Linked DNA regions of Homo sapiens: region 2 is linked to region 1. Evidence: promoter capture Hi-C in human tissues and cell types (Jung and others, 2019). All regions are on one chromosome and are shown on one strand. The core of a region is centred on a gene start or on the middle of the fragment in contact, and the rest is flanking DNA. Distances in the headings are between cores, read along the strand shown.

The links. Contacts are between HindIII fragments. The study calls those that stand out against the background at their distance.
Region 2: a contact is called between the fragment with the promoter of CHST15 here and the fragment with the promoter of HMX2 in region 1, in 1 of the 25 tissues and cell types used here (aorta).

Annotation. Positions count from the first base shown.
Region 1 is chr10:123,146,425-123,151,717 of GRCh38, reverse strand. It overlaps HMX2 (H6 family homeobox 2), which reads right to left and starts at 3,582. Exons shown (of 2, transcript NM_005519.2): 1 at 3,072-3,582; 2 at 1,046-2,148. The coding sequence starts at 3,339. The coding sequence ends at 1,595. RefSeq lists enhancers at 267-486, 777-836, 887-956 and silencers at 1,471-1,765, 2,873-3,002, 3,393-3,712. The HindIII fragment of the contact is 11,811 bases long and covers 1-5,293 here.
Region 2 is chr10:124,090,432-124,096,124 of GRCh38, reverse strand. CHST15 (carbohydrate sulfotransferase 15) reads left to right here and starts at 2,527. Exons shown (of 8, transcript NM_001270764.2): 1 at 2,527-2,656. The HindIII fragment of the contact is 16,611 bases long and covers 1-5,693 here.

The DNA of each region.
Region 1 (5,293 bases), core at 2,333-4,832:
GATGAGATAGGGCCTCAGCGCTGCGGACTCCAGGCTCCTTTGCATCCGCTCTGCCCAGCCAGAGGCCGGAGGAGCTCGCCCCAGGTGGTGCTGAACCACCGGCTTCCTCCAAGCTCAGGCTTCCTTTTCCGAGGTTTTGCCAAGAACAGGTGGCTGCAATCTATTGGGAGCGAGAATCTGCAATTTGCATGATACTCCCGCGGCTATTCTCTCGGTGCAGCGCCCTCCCAGCCCCTGCGCGGCCGCAGGTGTCAGGGCGAGGAAGTCCGTGGGCGCCCCCGCCGCGCGTCAAGGTTCCATTCAGAGCAAGCGGCCGCGTGCTAGCCGGTGATCCAGCCACACGCTGAACCAATGCAAACTATTAACAACAAAAGAGTGTAGGGAAGCGCCTTTGCCTCCCTCACCTTCTTTGCCTGGTCCCGGGCCTCGGATCTCTCCTGAGCCGCAGAACTGCCTCACCGCGCCCAGTTCCCTCTCCGCGCGAGACACATAACTCTGCCACCGGCCGGGTAGCTGGGCGCAGCGACAAGCTGGTCGCGCCAAGCTCGCGGCGAGCAAAGTGGAGGCTTTACTAGGTACAAGCAGCGCCATCGCCTGCTTTATACCCCTGGAGAGGAAGTGCGCGGCACAGGGCATGTCATAGCGGGAGCTGCTGTGGCCAAGCTCAAGGCGAGCCCAGTGCCGGGAATATGCCGCTGGGCACCCAGCTCGCTTGTTCCCAGAAGGCAATCGCTTAAATGGCGAGGCCTGCCTCCCAGTCTTTGTCTTTCTCCGCGCGGACTCTTGAGCTGGATTCCAGCCGGGGTGCGCCCCAGCCCGCGCGACGATTCTGGGCGTTAGGAGGGAGAGTGGGCGGGCAGCTCCAGCCACGTGCAGTCTGGGCGGCGCCAAGGTCCCGACCTTTAACCCCTGACCCCGGTCCCACCCTCCACGTGGAGCGAGCCAAACTTCCACAGACAGACGCATGCAAGTCTTTCCACCGAAAAACCTGAAAACCTTCCGTGCGTTATCATGCCGGGTAACCAAGCCCACCAAAGTTAGCAAAGATGTTTAAAATGTTTTATTTTTTTTTCTTTTTAAAAATATTTACAGATCTGAACTCTCCCCTTTTCGTCCCTACCATCCTCGGGATGAGGGAAACGAAAAGAAGCAATTTAGTAATTGTCCAAAGCCTCTGAGGGCCTGGCTTGGCCGAGCGTGTATGCATGTACATATATACAGGTGTATATATGGGGGAGGAGTGTACCTGGTTTTGTAGGTGTTTTCCTGATTTTTTTCCCTACCAACCACAGCCTGTCTGGCCAAAACTCCCTTTCCCACCACCACCCGAGAACATCTCACTCCGAATGGTTTTCAAAGCGTACTGGTTCGGTCTAGGTAGGAAGCAGGCTCTCTGACTTAGGGAATGCCAATAAATACCCGAAACAATCAAAACAAAAAGTAGGGCAGAGACCATAAATAAGAGCTAATGAATACACATGGTGTATTTCTTCATATTTCTGGAAACACGCCGCCTTGCTCCGGAGCCCTGCTTACAGTACAGTACGCGCCCGGCTCTGCGGGCAGCTGGGGGCGGCGCGGGGCGGCGGGCCGGTCAGTAGTCGAGCTTGTTGTATAGGTTGTAGAGAGGTAAGGCCGAGAGGTTGCTTCCCGGGTAGTAGAGCGGCGCGGGAAAGGCGAGCGAGCGCGGCACCGGCACGCGCAGCAGCGAACTGTCCCGGAACACCAGCGGCATGCTCACCAGAGTCTGCGCCGACGCGTGCGCCATGTTGGCCGCCTCCAGCTCAGCCGAGAGCTGCCGCTTCCACTTGTTGCGGCGGTTCTGGAACCAAGTCTTTACCTGGGTCTCCGTGAGCTGCAGGCTGGAGGCGAGGCAGGCGCGCTCCGAGCTGCTCAGGTAGCGCTTCATGTCGAAGGTGGACTCGAGCTGGTACACCTGGCTGCGCGAAAAGACGGTGCGCGTCTTCTTCTTGGCCGCGCCGGCCTGCCGCTCAGCGCCGCCGTCCCGCGGCCGCTCGGACCCCGGCGAGGGCGAGCCCGCGGGCAGGAGCCTCTCTTTCTCTTCTTTAAAGTCCGAGTGCGAAGGAGAGAGGAAAGGCGTGCGCTCCAAGCCGCCCGGGCCCGAGCCTCCGCTGCCCTTGGGGGTACCTGAGGAGCGAGAACAGACAGAAAGGCCATGGAGTTGGTTGGGGAGCCTCGGAGACCGCCAGCTCTCCCTGGGACCAAGCGGTTGGCAAGCGCCTGCAGCCTTGGTCCCACCTTACCAATCCCCTCCTCTTATCCCTCTCACTGGCCCCCCAAACCCAGCACCCCGTCCTTTAAAAGCGACAAGAGAGGGACCCAGCTACTTGGAGTATGGGGTCTCTGTGCTCCCACCTTTATGAATGGGCCAGGGGCAACAGGGAGAGGAGGTCTGGAGGGGGAAACATTAGCATGGTTTTAAAAGGCGAATTTGCTTGGTGGTAATTGAGCTGGAAGAGTTCCTCGAGCTTTATAGGGTGGCATCATTTCACAGGCCGTTTGTTTGGAAATCACGCTAAGGACTAACGCAGGACTCCCCTTCGTCAAATGTTGTAAAGAGGAACCGTCTCTGAAATGCACCATTGTCAATCATCTTGGAGTGCTAATCATTCCAAGGAGGAGAGAGAGAGAAAGGCAGAGATACGGAGCGAGTGAGGAAGAAGACTCAGAAAGAGATTACGGTGGAGACAGACTGCCCAGACCCGACTTGCAGATCTCCACCTCGTGTCCGGAAAGAAAGTACCAGATGTGCAGTGATTGAGGACAGCCGGGTGTAAGGCCGGCCGCGTGTCCCTCTCGCTGTGGTCCACTCTCTCAACAACTCAACCTTCCCCAGGAAGCCCAAGCCGGCACGGGTCTGTGTTCGCCTGCTCCCAGGGGCCCACCGGGCGGAGGAGGCACCACAGTGCGCGCCCCTCTCCCCGCGGTCCCGAACCCCCGGCTGCCGCAGCTCTGGCCAGAGGGGGCCCGGCGCGGGAGTCTTGGCGGGGCGCTCAGCCTCCCTCCCCTCGCGCTCGCTCGCTGCCACACTGGCGACGTGCGATCCTTACCCAGGCAAGGAAAAGGGATGGGGGGATGGTGCTTGGGGCCCTGCTCCTTAGGGCCGTGCTGGTCTGGGCAGAAGCAGGCGGGCGCCTTCCAGCCGTCGTCCGGCTCCTCCTCCTCCGAGGACACGGACAGGCTGCGCTTCCTGGCTGGCCAGCCGACGGGCTCCCGCGGTGCCTCCGAGGGGCCCCCGCCCAGGATGGACTGGATGGTGAAGCTGGAGACGCCACCGGCCGCCGGACACCCCTTGCCCGCATCTTCTTTGCTGCCCATCCTGGGTTCATAAGAAATCGAAGGAAACCAAGAACTCCCTTTAGAGACGATCTGGGTGATCTGGGTGGAAGGTGGTGCAGCAGGCAGGCAGTGGGGAGGGGCGGGGAGGAAATCTAGGGGGAGGGGGCGCCGAGGCTGGTGAGGCGTCCCTTCCGCGCCAGGGACATGCAGGCACCGGATGGCTGCGCAGGGGTTCCTGCCCGCCTGGCTCTGGGTGCGCCCGCCCAGCCCCGGTGCAAATGCCCCTTCCTCGCCCGCCAACTCGCCGGGTCTCCGGCGGCGCGGAGGCGGCGCGGCCTCATTTGCATAGAGGTTACCCGAACGCGGCCAATCGCAGCGCCGCCGAGCGGCCCCGGAAAATTTCAAAACGCTCCGGCCAGGCACACAGCACCGGTGCGCCCCCAGAGCGCGCCGAGGGCCTGGCGGGCATCAGCGGCGTCTAACCAGGGGCAGCCAGGGCTGAAAGCAGCTGCAGATTCTAGCCCGGGTTCCTGGCGGCTGCGGCAACTCCGACTCCTTGGACCCCTTGGACCCTTCTCTCCAGAGGCAGGGGCGGTGCGGGACTCGGAGCTGGAGTGGCTCGACGCCTCCGCAGGCGACGGGTCTCCGCGCCTCCCAGGGGCTTGTACAGGCTGCTCCACCATCCTCCCCCAGCCCTCCACCCCTTCTAGCCCCAGTGGGCGGGCAAAGCCGGCACTCCTGGGACCGTGGCGCCCTGCGTGGGGGTGAGGTGGGTTAGGAGCAGGCGTCTCCAGGCGGACGCTCATCCTCTCCAGCATGGCCAGGAGCCTTGGGAGCAGACATTCCCCTTCCCCGTCTGCAGACCTCATCCCTGTCACAGGTTCTACGGACCTACAGAATCTTTAGGGGGAGGGAGGAAGCCCTAAGACCTCTAGTCAAGAGATCTGGGTTCAAATTCCGGCACAACTATTTACACACTGCATGAACTTGCACAACTCATGCCGATTAAAGCCTCTCTGCCCTCATAGTTGAAAATAACTTCTCGGATTGCCTCAGGTAGGGATTAAAAGCCTCGAAGCACTAGCAGCGCATAGTAGGTACTCCATAAACCTGGCCGGGTAGCCCATGGCCCACCCGTGTTTTAAGCGAATCTGTGTTTTTGTTTTGTAAATTTTGAAGGTTTCCGAACTGCTGCAGAAATAGACGCCTTACTCCCAGGAAGAAGATAAGGAACTGGTGACAGGACTCGGTTTTAGAATTGAGCAGACTCGACTCAATTCTCGGCTGGGTGATCTTGGGGGAAGACATTTGGAAATTCTGAGGCTCGGTTTCTTTATTCCTAAAATTGGAGGAAGCAGTGCCTCCCTCGCAGAGGCTGTTGTGAGGTCAAACTACCCAGCACCGAGCCTGGCACACCGTGGTGCTCAGTAAATAGTGATTCCCTCTGTGTTCTCATAGCCCCCTTCTGTGCCCTGGCTCTCGCCCCTTTAATTCCTAGATCAGCTGTTACCCGAGCTAGAATTAGCCCAGCCAAGCAAAGCGGTTTGGGGCCACAGTCGTCTGCACAAGCTTCCTGGAAACTGAAGTGAGGCAAGGCCCGAAGTGCTCAGGCAACCCCGTCCCCTCAAGCTGTGACCTCTAGACCTCTTGGCCAAGAGATTCCAGAAGCCCTGTCTTTAGGGTGCCCCCCAAGTGCAGCCAAGGGTGAGTGGAGACTCTGGAATCAGTCCCCACAAATGTCCAGACACTGCATGACTGTGCAGTTCCTTCCTCGCCTGCACCGCGCCCGGGTTATTAAGTAAAGCGCTTATAATATCATTAGCCGCGGTGAGTTACCGACTGCGGCCCTGCCCGTGGCAGAACTCTTCCCTACTTAACTCCTCGAGGGGCTCGTTAATGGGCTAATTGATTAGGAGTCGGCCGCGCAGCCGGGGCAGGGGCAGGCGAGGGGGCGGGGGCCAGGGGGTGCGCGCAGCGGCCCGGGAGGCCAGCG
Region 2 (5,693 bases), core at 1,278-3,777, 950 kb before region 1:
AAGCGGGGATTTATTTTCTGAAAGTATCTGCATTTTTTTTTCTTTTTTCTTTTTTTGAGAGGGTGTCTCACTCTGTCACCCAGGCTGGGGTGCAGTGGTGTGATCTCGGCTCACGGCAACCTCTGCCTCCCGGGAATCTACGGGCTTGCGCCACCACGCCTAGCTAATTTTTGTATTTTTAGTGGAGACGGGGTTTCACCATGTTGGCCAGGCTTGTCTCGAACTCCTGACCTTAAGTGATCCACCCGCCTCGGCCTCCCAAAGTGTTGTGATTACAGGCGTGAGCTACCGTGCTTGGCCGGTATCTGCATTTTTTTCAGCCGTGACTTGCTAATACCATGTTGGTATCAACCTCTCTTGCAGTTACACATTTATTTGTCTATCCTTCCACCCATCCACAGGGACCTGGCATTTGGGTGTTCTTTCAATTCTCTGCAGTAACAGGCTCAAGTGCAATTCTTGGGTAATTTTTTGAAATTAAGGTTGAAAGGAAAAAAATCACCTTCTAGTTAATCTCAGGCACGTGTATAAATACCTTTGGAAAGTCCCTGGTGGAATTCATATCAAAGCGGCACCGTGATTTTTACTTAAAAACAATTTTGCTCCATGTCAACCGTGGTTTCTGACACCTGAATTTGAAAGTGATCTGGGTGGGCCCAGCGCCATCTCCATAACGGAGTTATGTGTTTACTTGGAGGGAGGAGAGGAAAGGCATTATTCCCTGGCAGTATGTGTGGCCCTGGAATAATGTTCCACACACCCTTACAGAAGGGGATTTCCTCCTTGCTGTTTCCACAGACCCTTCCCTGTGTTTGTTTAAACCCGTTGCACACTGGTCTGACAGCTGCCTGGCCCAGGGCCTTCCTTGCAGACGCATGTACAACCAACCCTCTTTAACAGCAACCTGCTCTGTGTCCCCTGATGCAATTACTCGAGTATATAAACCTCACTGAAAGGCAGGCTTTTCTTGGGAGCTAATAAATAAGCCCCAAAGCCACAACGTGTGTGAGACCTTGAAAAATGGCATCATCATCTATTGGGAATTGTGAACCCTGCAAAAAGCAGCTCGTTGTATTTTCAGAAATAGGTTTTTGTTTAAAAAAAAAATAAAGAACAAAAATCACTAAGTGGAGTCTATATGGAAAAAGCAATCTAGTCTGAGATTCTAAGGCAAGTCTCTTTGCTGCATTCATCTTTCTTCGCAGATTTTATGTAAGAGGCATTATTTGCAGGAAAACAAGACAGGATTTTAAAGAACTCCCCTCTCATCCCGGTTTCCCATCTGCAGTTATAATCCTCTGATGGTGACCTCTGCATTAGTTGCCATGGGTGCTGAGCAGAAGTTTATGACCTCAGGGTGGACTGTAGCTTCAGGGGGGCGAGATGAAGCCTCCGGCAATAAAGAGATAATGGGGAGAAGCCACTGTCAGGAATGACCCTTCGGTGGCATGTAGTCTACAGTTAACGGAGCACTTTCATTTCCACTTCTGGTTGCTTCGAGGAAGAGGGTGCTGGACTCTGGCCACGGGGACACAGGCCGGCAAGAGACTGCAGATTCTTTTTGTCCCTTGGACCTCAGTTTCCTGAGAGGCTGGGCTTGGTGCTCCAAGCGCCCTCTGAGCGAATCTGCCAGAATTTCATGTGTCTTTTCTTTAACTGATGGCATCTTCAGCCCAGAGTCAGTGGAGTCGGCCACTGGTGCCGCTTTCTTGCCCTCGGGCTGTCCAGGTGGTTCCCTGGGGCAGCCGACTCCAGGCCACTGCGGCAGGCCGTGGCGATCGGGGTCCTGCAGAGCTTTACCTCCCCCGCGGAAGCAAAACACGCCGGGCCAAAGAGCCGGGCCAGCCTTCCCGGGATGCAAAAATACAACAGAGGGCGCCGAACTCACCAGCGCTGTGGCCTTGAATATTAATGTACGGGCTGGCTCCAGACCGCCAAGTTCCTTAAAGATGTCTCTGGCGGCCGGGCGCGGTGGCTTACGCCTGTAATCCCAGCACTTTGGGTTGGGGGGGCGGACGGATCATCTGAGGTCGGGAGTTCGAGACCAGCCTGACCAACATGGAGAAACCCCGTCTGTACTAAAAATATAAAATTAGCCTATTTTGCGTGGTGGCGCATGCCTGTAATCCCGGCTACTCGGGAGGCTGAGGCAGGAGACTCTCTTGAACCCGGGAGGCTGAGGCAGGAGACTCTCTTGAACCCGGGAGGCGGAAGTTGCAGTGAGCCGAGATCGCGCCATTGCATTCCAGCCTGGGCAACAAGAGCGAAACTCTGTCTTTAAAAAAAAGAAGTATCTGGCAAGGTGTCACTGCCAGATTTCAGGGGTTTCGATGTGCTTTTATTTGGAATCACCGCAACACACAAGCAGTGTTGACTCGGAGGGGGAGGGGGCAGGGGCCAAACCCACCGCTCGGCGCACACGCCTTGATCTCACATTCCAGACTGGAGCTGATGTGTGTCAGCGCGACATGGGGCGGGGGGAGGGTTCTCCTCGGATGTTTCATTCGCCGTCTGCACGTCACTCCCAAACTTTTCCTCCCAGCGCTCGGGGAGTCAGGTTGACGCGCCCTGGATGCGGGGCTAGAGGCTCGGGGCTGGGCGCGCTCCCGCGGAGCCGGAGCCGCAGAGGCTCCCGGGCTGGACTCAGGCTTCTCAGGTACAAGTTAGGTGCCAGACGCCGAGGTGGGGTCGGCGAGGAGCGGCGGTAGGAGGTCTGGCCCTGGGCTCGGGGCTCCGGCGCCCCTCCGCGGGTTCGGGCCAGGCAGCGCCGGCGGCGGCCGGGGCTGGGCGTAGGGAGTCCGGGCCGGCGGAGGCGGCGCGCAGCCTCACTCCCCGCGGCGCTCCCGGCGCGGTGGTGGCGGTGGCGGTGGCGGCGGCGGCCCAGGCAGACAATGAACTTGCGAGCTCGACGAGCCGAGGCAGGTTTGGGCCCCGGGCTCCTTGGCCCGGCCTCCCCGAGGCTTCAGCGATCCCCAGCGGGAGGAGTCCCTTCGCCATTGGTCCTGGCCGCGCTCCGGGCGCCCTGCGCGCTTGAGGACCCCGCGGGAAGGGTTACCCAGCGGCGACACACGCCCCCTCCCTCGCAGAGAGGACGCGGCCGGAGCGAGGGGACAGGGGACCGAGCAGTGGCGTGGTGGCGCCGTGGATAGCCGGAGGCCGGCGGGGGGCGCAAGCCGCGTGGAACGCACCGGCGGGCTGTCCGGGAGAAGGAGCCCAGTAGTCGGAATCGGGGCGCCCCTGCACCGCCCAGCTCTGGGAGCCGCAGGCGGGGGACCGACCGACGGACAGACCAGTGCTTTCACGGTGTGAGCGCGCGTCGTTTGGCGGTAGGGGACGGGGATTCCCCCCAGCCTTGCGCTCCGCCCCCACACCCCTATCGCACTTTGGGGAAGTTTCCAGGCGCGGCCCGGGGCAGGTAAGTGGGCATCCGCCACTCTCTCCCCGGTTGCGAGCTCGGATGCGCTTCCAGAACCCTGGCTCTAGCCTTGCGGCGGTTCCGGGCGGGGAGGCCAGAGCTCTCCCGCGCCTAAGCCCGTGGGACCCGGTTCAGGGAAGGGGGATGGCGGGGGCGGGCCTGGGAAGAGATAGGGGAGCGGCTGAGCCCCGAGCGGTGTGAACTTTTGCTCCCCGCCCCCTCCTCCTTCCTCCTCCCCGCCCCGCCCCCACTGCTGTCCCCTCCCTGCGCCCCGCCGCGTCTCGGGAGGCGGCGTGACTCGGGAGTTGCCGGCGCTTCCCGGCGGTGGCGGCGTCTCTGGCCGGCCTTGGTGCGGCGAGCCGAGCGAGGCAGCTCTGAGCCGCGCGGTGAGGCCAGAGGCGGGGAGCCGGGGCTGCGGGGCGGCGAAGCTGGGGAGCCGGATGGCAGCGGCCGGGGCGCGGAGGCGACGCTGGCGGTGGAGATGTAATGCGAGTCTGTTGGGTTGTGTGTGCCGGGAGATAGGACGCGGTGGCTGTGGGTGGCTGGGTGGCGGGCTGTGGCGCAATTGGCCCCCTGGGATGGCAGGATAGAGGCGCCGGGGCGAAGGGAACCTTGCCTTTGGGAAAATGAATGAAGAGCCGTGGAAGCACCTTCCCGACTCCTCCAGGCAACCGATGGGCCGGCGTGCGCGCGAGTGTGTGCGTGTTGAGGCTTCGGAGCCGCCCGGGTCCTGGGCACAGCTGCTTGACCTCCCCGTCGCTGTCCGGGTGCCCACGTTCCCGCCCGCCCTGCGCCCGGGGCCGGCCGGCGCGGCTGGGACGGCGGGTATAGAGGAGGAAGGCTGGGGCTGGGTTGCCGGCTGCTGGCGGCTGGAGGTCCGCGCCCAGTGTAGGGAAGTCTTCGAAGGAGGCTGCCAGGCTGGAGGCTGGGACCAGCTCCTGGGGGCGGGGGCCCTTCTTCGTCTGCCTGCGTGCGCGGAGCCGCTGTGACAGCTGGGCGCCTTCGCCTTGTTCACGTTGGTTAAGTTAATTGTACCGAGTTCTCGGGAATGAAGTGTGGCTCCGGGATGCCCCGCAGAGGGATGTGACAAGCCGGTCAGTGAGGCTGAGCAAAGGGGCTAACCTTGCCTCTGGGCGCCCTAGCAGTGCCCCCAGCCCCTCTTTATCAGCTGCAATTCCTGAGTGTTGTGGGATGCCTCGGTGGGTTAGGGTAGCCACCCAGCGTTGGGGCAGAAAGGCCTCGGAGGGCATCTGCACCCCCGAGGGGCCCTGAAGTAAACTGAGGCCTAGAGATTTGCCCAGCGTTTCTCCTGGACCCTCCTTGGACCTTCCTGGACCATTATCCATCCCCCGCTTTCCTGCTTCTCCTCCCAGGACCGGCAACCTTGCAAAATCAGGAACCCTCCCTTCCAGAACATGGCACTTACTAATTTTACAAACTGAATGTTGAACTAGGATCTCTTGATTGATACATAAAGACATACATAGATCATATATGATTTTATTCAAAGTAGTATAGGAATAAAAATGCCTTCTAAGTAGGTAGGTTTTTGCAAACAAGTTTTTCTCCCCCAAGTTCCTGAGAAACTGTCAGAAGATTTTCTTTCTTGCCACCTCCTAGATGGGCACACAGAGCTGGTGAGGTAAAGTGGCTTGTTATGGCCTTCCTGTGGGCACATAGGTGAGCTGGAGGTGGAGCTGCAGGTCTGGGCTTCCCTCCAAAGTCCAGCTCCGGAGGAGAGCCAGCTCAGGAGCCCTCTGCAGAAGTCCAACCCTGTCTTTGCGGCTCTCTCCTCTGGGCTTTGGATGATTGCAGTGAGCTGGCTTGTAGGTGAAGCATGCAGGGGTAATTCATCCAGGATATTGTCCAGGGGGGTGGCAGGCAGGTCGGCCCACAGTGGTCACATGTGTGCCTTGCTTTTCTTGGATGATCAAAGCTCGCCATGTCTGAGCCACTGTCCTGGCCAGGGACCCAGCACGGTCACCGTGGCTGCTGTGAGGGCTGCAGTTTCCTTCCACACCTTTGTCATCCCTGGTTGCTGCTGCCCCTGGCCAGGAAAAGTGAGATATCAGAAACATTTGATTTTTCACATGCCTGGAAGAGAGAAGATTAATTCCTGCATCAAGAAGAAGTGTTTGGGGAAAGGTTGGTAACGTGGGAAGCGGATTCTACTTATTTGGCGTCTTGAGAAACAGCAGACAAGAAATTCCAAGTTAACTAGCTGGGCCCCAGGAGTCTGCAGTAGGGGAAGCTGTAGATTAGTGCTGGACTGTGGTAG